Linked DNA regions of Homo sapiens: region 2 is linked to region 1. The links are contacts of gene promoters, found by promoter capture Hi-C in human tissues and cell types (Jung and others, 2019). All regions are on one chromosome and are shown on one strand. The core of a region is centred on a gene start or on the middle of the fragment in contact, and the rest is flanking DNA. Distances in the headings are between cores, read along the strand shown. Region 1 holds the start of LIN7A (lin-7 cell polarity scaffold A). Region 2 overlaps LIN7A (lin-7 cell polarity scaffold A).

Region 1 (5,190 bases), core at 1,067-3,566:
ATATTTGAATAAGATACGGAGAACAATATTTATATATATTGACTTTATGCTCAGTGGTGATGCCAATAACCCATCATCTCTTGGTTATAGATTTTCCATGAGCTGCTGATGAATTTTTTCAGACTCATCCACAGGGTAAACCTGCTTGTCTCCTGAGCTACTGCATGTACGTAATTACACTCAGAAGGACAAGTAGAGTTTGGCTGTGAACAAGAGCAAACTTTAAAAATAAATCTTAGTCCGATTAGCACCTCCTCTCATCAACCGACTGAGGCATCTAAGGGCTAAGGTAAAACCCAACATTGAAATATTTGTATTATTAGTAGTAGTGGTAGTATATAAAATGACCCAGGTATGCAATCTTCTTGGAGTTTTTGCTCCTAACATAGTCACTTGATTTGGGATGTTTAACGACTGTGATTTTGTAATGGGACAATATAAGAGCTCATTACATTAAAACATAAATACTTGGGAAGCTCATAGTTTCTGATAGCTTGCCATCTGTTTGGTTCTTACCGGCAATGGATTTATCCTGCTTAGTGCAGATGATGATATTGTGGGTAAAATCATGGATTATACAATGGATTTCTGAGGTCTTTAACTACTGTTATTAATTTTGCCAGCTTACAAATCAACATTTTCTAATATAAAATCAATTACATTTTATTTTTCAACTCTTACCCTAAGAAAGGTTGCTATGGGCACCACAGAACATCTGTTCTGGCGCCAACAGATTGCGTTAAAGTCACCCACAGTCTCTCCAAATTAAAAACCTCAAACTGAGTTCACTGGCTTTGTTACTGTACTCTCAGCAGGATGTTCTTTTGCCTTGCCCATCGTTCAGTTTAATCCTCTAGAAAGAAAATTTTTAGAGGTACATCGGACTAAATCATTTTCTTCTGAGTACACCATTTCCAAATGGCCGCCCAGGGTCCTAAATCCGGCGGCTGCGGAGAGGGACTAGAGGGTGTCCTCCTCTGCAGAGCCGTAGGACTCGAGCGCCTTCATCACTGGACGCTGGAGCCAGGAAGGAAACCCACACACTCAGGGACAGGTATAACCCCACAGGGGTGCACCAGTGAGGCCCCGATCGCAGCGGAGGACTCCATCCCTGAGCTTGTGAGGGCGTCCTGGGGAGGAAGCGAACACTTTCCCCGTTCAAGTCAGAGAGCAGGACTCACTGGGTGGCAGGTCAGAAGTTGAATTTTAACCCGACCTGCGCTTTGTCCCCGCGCCTTCCGCAGCCTGGGCGCCGCGGTGGCACCGAGCTGGGAGAGGACACGAGAGGCTGGCGCGGGAGAAGCCGAGAGTTGCTATCGACCGGGAGCTGCCGGCGGCGGGAGCAGACGCGACCCTCGCCGCTTTCGATCTCGAAGCCGCGGAGAGCCGATCTCGGCTGCTGGGGCTCGGCTCCCCGCGCTCTGCCTTGCCCTTTCGGCAGAGGGCAGCTCCCTGCCTGCTGCAGCCCCGCCACTGTGCGCCCGGCAGCCCAGGGGTGCGCCCAGCCCGCCCCCCGAGTGGCCGCCGGGACTCCAGCAGTTGGACCGACCCTCGCCCTCCGGCGCCTGGACAAACTTCCTTCCTCCCGGGCCCCTGCGCCAAGCAAGCTGACAGGCGGCTCCCTCGCCGGTCTCCTCTGGGCTCTGGCCGGGCGAGCTTGCTCTCTGCCCCTCTCCAACCCCGAGCCCCTGGCGCCTATAGCCGTCCCCGCGCAGCGGCTCCAACAAAGCCAGAGGACCGGAGACGACCCGGCGAGGGGCTGGGAGTGGCAGCGGGGACCCCAGAGCCAGAAGGAGGCGTCCCCTCGGCGGGGCGAGTACAGTGGGAAGGGGCAGCGGGAACGTAGCGGGGAGAGAAAGGGGAAGAAAGTGTTCTGTTCTCGGCGCGAACGCCTTCCTGGCTCGTCCTCGTTCCCCTTCTCCTCCTGCCTGAGCGCGTCCCATGTCCCGTTGGGAATTGGCAGGCGGGGAAGGGAGGAGGGGAGAGGGGACGCGGTGGCCTGGCGAGCGAGCCGCTCCCTTACCTCTGTCCAGGGTGAGCGGCTGGACCACTGTCAATGTCGCCATGTCTGCCGTGGGAGCCGAAGTGACGCTCGGCTTCAGCATCAGCAACCGCTCGTAGTGAGAAAAAAAGGAGGAGATTGGGGGCGGGGGTGGAGAGGGAAGACGGAAAGGAGGGGGAGGAGGGGGAAGGAAGGAAGGTGGTGGTGGTGGAGAAGAAAGCTTGGGTGGGTTGGTAGCCAGATGGAGACGCAACTGTTCCGCGGCGGCAGATCTTCAGTTGCGGTGCGGAGCTGAGCAGGTATCCGAGAGCGACTGCATCGCCGGGCTCTGGGAGGGAAGGCTCTGCCCTAGAACTTTGCTATTCCACCCCCAGGAGCGCTGGGTGGGTGTAGCTGGCGGGTTGCTTCCTTTCAACTTTCCACTCTAATAAAATGGTCAGAATATACGTGTGTGCATGCGGGTGCGTGTGTGTATAAGGGGAAGAGAGAGGATGGAAAGGGGATATGGGGAAGGGAGTGGGAGATGAGTTTTCTCAGATTAAGAGAAATTGCCAATCCAATAATCCCATCCCCTTTAGAGAGAAAATGCTTCCATTATCAGAAATGTTTGGGATGTAATTACATTTGCAGTTAATTTCTGTTGAAGTTTTTCGGAATGTTGACCTATAACGGCATATAAAGATAACTGACTAAAGGCCAGCGTTCCATCAGTAGATGTTCATTTAGGACCTGAGTATATTGCCTGGAGAAAAAAAAAAAAAAAGGCAAACCTCTTAAAAGTGCTTCAAAATAAAAAACGTGTAGGTAAGTTTCTATCGCTAAGTTTTTCTTTTTCAAGCCACTGTTAATACATTACCAATTCAGTAAATGTAGCTTAGAAACAAGTACAGTGTTCAGATTTTCTCCGAATTTTTTACATACCACATCCTGTAAACATGCCCCACTCCCCCTCACCCACCCAGCAACAAAAACTTTGCTCTTAATGTCCAAACTGATTTTGGTTGTCTATGACTACGTTTGAAAAATATGTACCTAGCACTTTTCATGTTGATTTCTAACCAGTGGTTCAGAGATGCCACTTATCGATTGATTAACATATATGCCAGGAATTGAGATAGAAGAGTTACATTGCCTTGTGCCACGCCTTGATTTAGGAGTTCAATTTAGTCTCCGACTTCCTGTAGCCTGTAATCTAGTGGGAGATGGTGTTATTAAAAACCTGACTTTAGAGTCAGTTGATCAGGATTAAATTACGAGAGCCTTCAAATACTGGCTGTGACCTCTTCGCCCCAATAAAAAGGCTACTTTCACTATCTTGTCATAGTAGGGATTCATTTCCTGACTACGAAATCAAGAAACATAAAGAAACCTTCTATAAGCTGAATAGGGGTGACTGTGGGTGCAGGATTGGAAATGACAAAGCTGCCTCCATCTTGTTTCCTGTGACAGAGCTGAATTGTTTGGGCTAACAATAAACTCTAAAAGGCAGATACTGTTTTATAGCAAAATATTTGCATATAATTGATGCCATTTTCTTCTGATTACAGATAGGATTTCTGAAGGTCTTTTTCATTTTATAGTCTACAATTGAATTTTAAAAAACAACATTTCACCAATGTGGGAAAGCCAAAGATGATTGGCCATATATAGACTTAACAGACCCTAAGAACAAACCTAAAATAGTAGTTCGATATGTTTATTTTTATTTAGTATTTAAGAAAGAATGCTGATCTTGACATTTGAGTCTTAGTCATGTACTCTTCGGAAGTCACACAATCTCTCACTGATCCTGTTTCCTCCTCTGTCATACAATGGAAATAATATCATTCAATGTCACAGAGATCTGTCATATGAGGAAACTAATTCTACCTTGCAATCTCACAGAGTTTTATGAGGGTCTAATGGAGTCATACATGTGACTGTGCTTTGAAAACAGTAAAGAATATACAAATTTATTTATACAAGCATACATCCCCTGGAACCGTGTGGTAAGCTCTGTGCTAGGTGCTAACCATGCAAAGATTAATGAGATGGCCCCCTTTCTGCCCAGTCTTGCTTGGGAGACAGTGAGCAAACCATAAGCTTCTGTGCAGTACTCTAAGCACTATTAAAAGGAAGTGCCCTCGGTGGCCAGAGGTTGCAAAAACAACTTTGGTTTTTTACCGTTATTCACATGCCCTGAATTAAGCAACAGAAAGAAGTTGAGATGAGCGCAATGATACCAGAGTGTGTTACAAGCTTTTGCACAAAGTTATTAAACCTCACTCGGTAACTGAGGATAAAAGAACATACAAATCCCTTGACTTCTAATGTAGTTATTTTACAACATCCTTTATTAGGGAATATGTATTTAAGCAGCTTGATTCATCAGCCCAAAAGTCATAAATTGTACCCATTCCAACACAAATCCCTGATTGTGGTGTCAGTGAAGGTAGAGTTTTCTTTGTCTTTTTGTTTCCTAATGCATCCTCAGGACTAAACATTTCATAGCATATTTCTGGACTTCTGCCTTGAGCTTCCTATTTGAAATTTGCTCTGTCATTCTTTCTCTGTGTTGACTCTGTAGGGTTGTTGTTGTTTTTAAATCAAGATTAAAAGAGAAATTAAAAGGAAGCATAAATCACCATAAATTCATCTGTTATTATTTTTAGTAGTGGAAAGTTCATTCCCTTTAGCTTATGTCTACACAGGTGTAGAAAATTAATAAAAATTCATTATCCATTAGAATTTGTTTTTATGAATAAATACTATCTCTCCAATAATATTTGTGAATTTCGTTTTGAGACATGCAGGGATATACTTGATCTAGTCACATGCCAGTTGCTTTGCTGTGTATTTACCTGAGAATTGTTAAAATATTTGTAATTATGCTTTTATCTTAGCTATTTGGTTACAAAATCACTACACTCTTTCATTAAATGATATGTAGAAATTTAGTTTAATGGTAACTATATTTTCATGGAGTTAACTAATTCAATAAATACTTATTGAGCACTTATATGTGCCAGACTTGGTGCTAAGTTGGTCTCTCTTTCCCTTTCTTTCCAGCCCAGAGAAGTAGGTATTTTTATGCCGTTTTGAAGATAAGTAAACTGAAGCTCACAGAGGTTACACAACTTGCTTAAGAATAGTAGCACCTGGCTTCACAATCTCCTGTGCTTTCCACTAAGAAACATCACACTTTGTTC
Region 2 (5,190 bases), core at 1,654-4,153, 57 kb before region 1:
CCTGTACTTGCTGCCAGAAAGTGACAAGTTGATGTTACAAACACTCTCTACACATCATTAAAAATGTGTCTTTACTCAGAGAAAGCTGCAGAAATAGAACTATAACTATACTTTAAAATTCTGTTCCCCATGGGTGATGTAGTCATTCTCTTTTTGTAATTCCTCTGATAAAATGATAAATTATATTCTCAGAAAATTGAATAAAACAAGTGTGTCTGGAGTTTGTTCCTGCTGGTGGGTTTGTGGTCTCGCTGACTTCAAGAATGAAGCCATGGACCTTTGCGGTGAGTGTGACAGCTCTTAAAGGTGGCACAGACCCAAAGAGTGAGCAGCAGCAAGATTTATTCTGAAGAGAGAAAGAACAATACTTCCACAGTACGGAAAGAGATCTGAGCGGGTTGCTGCTGTTGGCGGACGTGGCCAGCTTTTATTCCCTTATTTGTCCCCGCCCATGTCCTGCTGATTGGTCCATTTTACAGAGTGCTGATTGGTCCATTTTACAGTGTGCTGATTGGTCCATTTTACAGAGCACGGATTGGTCCATTTTACAAACCTCTAGCCACAGAGAGCTGATTGGTGAGTTTTTACAGAGTGCTGAATGGTGCATTTTACAAACCTCTAGCTAGTCACCCAGCACTGATTGGTGTGTTTTACAATCCTAGCTACAGAGCACTGATTGGTGCATTTTACAATCCTCTTGTAAGACAGAAAAGTTCTCCAAGTCCCCACACGATCCAAAAGTCCAGCTGGCTTCACCTCTCACAAGTACATTTATTCTGTAGTATTATTTTTATCAATTTAAAAATCTTCATAGTACTTGTCTTTCTTACCCCATTCACACAGTCTCACACAGTTACATATTCCAAGTATCCATACATGCTCAGCCTTTCATGTAGATGCAATCTATGTGAAGAAAAACATAGATTGCTTGCTATGTAACTATAGATTCACAGAACCGGAAGGATCACAGGAGACTGACTACCTAGTGGAGCAGTGTTTCTCAACTGATATTATAGACCTTATTAATTAGTCTTTATTTGGGGGTAGGAGGGGGTGGGATAGAGAGGAGATATCATGGACACTAGAAAATCTAATGAAGTTTGTGAAGTTATCCCAAGAAAAATCCACTCATGTGTGTAAATGTTCATATCATTTATTTATTTGTTTGCATTTGTCATTGAGTTATTTCACATTTTACAAATAATTATGTGACTCATTTTTCTTGTGAAAATTGATGACCTCTTTCTAAATAAAACATAAATGCAAATTACTAACCAAATCATATAAAAAAAGAAAACATATATTCTGCTTAAAATAGTTTTCAATGAGAAGGCTGTTTTATTTGGCTTAGTAAGAAGTTAAAATTTAGGCTACTCTGGAACACTTTGCCTATGGGATAGCCCTGCTGTGTCTATGGAGCAGCCCAAAAAAAAAAAAAAAAAAAAAAAAAAAGGAAGAAGTTAAAATTTAGACTGAGCCTTCCTTTATAGGAAAATATCGGTGTTATTTTTAGTATCCAAACAATTTTTCATCTGTTTTAATAGCACTATGTGCTCAAAGTTGCAGCTCACACAGCTTTCAGTATCAAACAGAATTAAATTCCCTATCAGTCGGAGCAGAGCAGACGTTTATCAAGACACCTGAGCTTTCTCCAAGCTACTTCAGGGTGAATTCAGGTTCTATGAAACCCTTTGTCCTCAAGTCAAATGAAATTATTTTTGGAAAGCTTAGTGTCAACAATGCAGCCTTAGTCAGCAAGGGAAGATGTTTGAATGCTTTCAATTTTATGTAGTCTAAGCAGAAATAACCTTTAAAAGAGTTTTGTAGTCTTTACAGATGTTTGTAGATCTTCTCCATGGATAAACTGACATGTCTTTCTCATTTTCAACTCCCTTGCCCTCACTAAAGTCTTTCTTTCAGCACTTTCATGTCAATGGAAAGGTCACAAGATTTTACCTGTAATTTCTTCCTCCAAAATGACAGTTGTTTCCAGAGCCACCCTACTAGACCAGAAAATCTGAAATTGAAAGACTAGCCTCATTTTTTTTTGACCTAACATCTACAAAGAAGTCCATCCATGAATAAACCTCTCTTGTCAAATTGTTTTAAGATTCAGCTCTCTTTTACTTAAAAAATAGATAAAATGAAATTTCTGACCCAAGTTCAGCCAAGTGCATTAACACTTATTCATTGGAAAGCCAAAAAACTTCTGATAGTAAAAATAATACATTTTGCTTCATTCCCAAATAAAAACTTTTGAAACTCTAGATTTCTGGCTATGTCTGTGAAATTATTTTAACAGAGCAGGCAAAGCATCTTTTTAGAATAATTATCAGTGTCTTTCACACGAATGCATGCTGATGGTGAGGGCAATATGTCTCTATGAAAAGTGGAACCTCTGTCTTCACCAGATTAATTACGCTGGATCTTGCATAAAGAAACTCCATATGTACTCCATATGTACTTGCAGTATCAAGATTTTTGTTCCATTAGGAGTTTTGCTTGATAAACTCTGTTGGGAGGAGGCAACGCACACACACACACACACACACACATACACACACACAGACACACACACACACATCGACATTCAGGTGAGAGATAAAAATCAGAGTTTTACTGAAACAATCATAGTTTTCACTCAGTTGCATGCCAAATGGGAATGCCACAGCTGTTATTTTCACTATAACTGGCTTTGAAATATTGGCAAAATACCAGAGTTCAAGAGTAGGTTCTATCAAGTGAACAGAGGTGCTATTAATTTTTTTTATTCTAATCAACCAACCAGCTCAAGCATTTCTAGAGTACTTGAAATGATAAAGCTTTCTCCAGTTATTTATGGTTTCTTTTGATTGGAAACATGTCAAAAGTTTCATGTTAGTGCAAATATAAGTTTTGGTAAATTTCCATCCTTTTAAAATTGAACTTCTTCTCCAGGGGAAAAAAATCTATATTGTGTGATTTATTTTCAGGATGCTCAGAAATAAGCTTTCTTGACTTCATCCTATCATTGGCAGGAAACTTATCACACAAGAAACAGTCTGGCTTTTGTGTCCCATCACATTTAGCAATGCAAATAAAATCAAAGGAAATGTAGGAGCCATCAGCTTTCTTTTCTCTGACATTTGCCAACTTAAGCTAAGTTTAATGTGAACAGAAAGAGATATGCACAAACATAATGTCAGATGCATTTTCATTAATTCTGATGAATGCAATGCCATTCCAGATGTCATTGTGCAAGGATAGTAACTTTGTGTGAAAAAATACATGCTACTCTGTCCATGTTTAAAGGAAAACATTAAAATATTTTAAAACAATAAAAATATTAAAACATTAAATACATTAAAAAAATATTTTACCATGAACAATTTTTTGCACAAAAAGCAAAGAAAACAAAATAAAGCTAAGTTATATATATATATATATGTACACACACATATATATATGTTTGCTCTTACTTAACCTACAACATAAAGTCTGTATATGATCTTTAACTAAAATATCCCTTTTATAACGTGATCTGAAATACAGCATCTAATCTCTGCTGTTGTTATATAGGAAGTTTCCTGTATTACAAATGAGCCCATTTGTAATAGTTGGGTATTTCTAGTTATCCTTGGTTATCTGGTTATCCTTGGTTATTCTTCCATTTTTCATCCAGTGTTCTGGCATGGTTAATTCTCTTGCCATTTATCCCATCAACTATTGGGTGGTAAATCTTATGTTACACATTACTTTTCTCTTTATGTGGCTGAATATCACCAAGTTCTTAACTTCTTGTCATCTAACAAGGTATCCAGATCTCTTTCTATGCTGGTTGCCTTTTTCTACAACCACTACAATGTGTTAACATCTATCTGAAAATTTGGAGCCATCCATTTAAAAATATTGCATTTTTTGAATGATCAAGAACTACATACATAGGTACATATTTTATTGAATATATAGGAGTGAAATTATATAAAGAAATGCAATGCTAATGGTTTCTCTAAATATTCTTTTGGATTTTTACATATACGATCATATCATCTGTGAGTAATAACAGTACTATCATTTTTCTTTCATTCTTTTTTTTTTTTTTTGAGACGGAGTCTCGCTCTGTCGCCCAGGCTGGAGTGCAGTGGCGGGATCTCGGCTCACTGCAAGCTCCGCCTCCCGGGTTCACGCCATTCTCCTGCCTCAGCCTCCCAAGTAGCTGGGACTACAGGCGCCCGCCACTACGCCCGGCTAATTTTTTGTATTTTTAGTAGAGACGGGGTTTCACCGTTTTAGCCGGGATGGTCTCGATCTCCTGACCTCGTGATCCGCCCGCCTCGGCCTCCCAAAGTGCTGGGATTACAGGCGTGAGCCACCGCGCCCGGCCTTTTCTTTCATTCTAATACTTACACCTATTTTATGTTTTTCTTGACTTATTTTAGTAGCTAGGCCATTCAGAATAATAGTCAATGACAATGGTGATTCTTAACTATTATTTCTAATTTTAGCTTTTTATCACTTAATCCATCAAAATTTTTACAATAGCTACAATTTCTTAATCGTCAACTCTTTAAGCTAGGCACTGTATTAGTCAAGGTATGTAATCTGCTATCTCATTTTATTTAATCTTTCTGACAATCCTATGTAGTTATTATTGTCTTATTTTATCTTAAAAAAGAGAATAAGCAAAACCAAGATCACAGAAATTAAGTAACTTGGCACTAGATTACAAAATGATGTGGTCAAGCAAGGATGTGAATCCAGATTTGTCACCATCCATTGCCAATATTCTTTCTGCACTTTTCCATTATATTACAATAAGCTATGATTCAGTATCAGCTTTACTTCCCTCCCTCCCTCCTTCCTTCTTTCCTTCTTTCTTCTCTCTCTTTCTGTTTTTCTCTTCTTTTTCCTTCTTCTGTTTTTCTTCCCTACCTCTCTCCTTCTCATCCTTCACTCGCTCCCATTCTTTCTTCCTCCAATTCCTCTTTCTCCTATTATCCTTATTTTATCTCATATTGTCACTAATGAGCCAAGTATGTATTTTCTTAGGGTAATTCTGAATCTAAGTTGTATCACCCAACCAAGCATTGACTCTCTCATAAAGCTGATTAAGTTTTCCTTCTATGTTTTCATCCACACAGTAGATTAAGACATTAATAGGCATTAATTTGAAAAGCATCAAGAACAAAAACTTGTGTCGTAATGCTACTT

What was found. The method cuts DNA at HindIII sites, captures the fragments that hold promoters and counts their contacts. A contact is called where the count stands out against the background at its distance.
Region 2: a fragment that was not itself captured here is called in contact with the fragment with the promoter of LIN7A in region 1 in 1 of the 25 tissues and cell types used here (mesenchymal stem cells).

Annotation. Positions count from the first base shown.
Region 1 is chr12:80,935,618-80,940,807 of GRCh38, forward strand. LIN7A (lin-7 cell polarity scaffold A) reads right to left here and starts at 2,317. Exons shown (of 6, transcript NM_004664.4): 1 at 2,024-2,317. The coding sequence starts at 2,105. It overlaps MIR618 (microRNA 618), which reads right to left and starts at 216; the gene lies at 119-216. RefSeq lists a silencer at 1,445-1,654. The HindIII fragment of the contact is 2,607 bases long and covers 547-3,153 here.
Region 2 is chr12:80,878,221-80,883,410 of GRCh38, forward strand. The region is part of intron 2 of LIN7A (lin-7 cell polarity scaffold A); the gene reads right to left. Among named protein-coding and RNA genes, the nearest start is that of MIR617, 48 kb to the left of the region's middle. The HindIII fragment of the contact is 4,263 bases long and covers 773-5,035 here.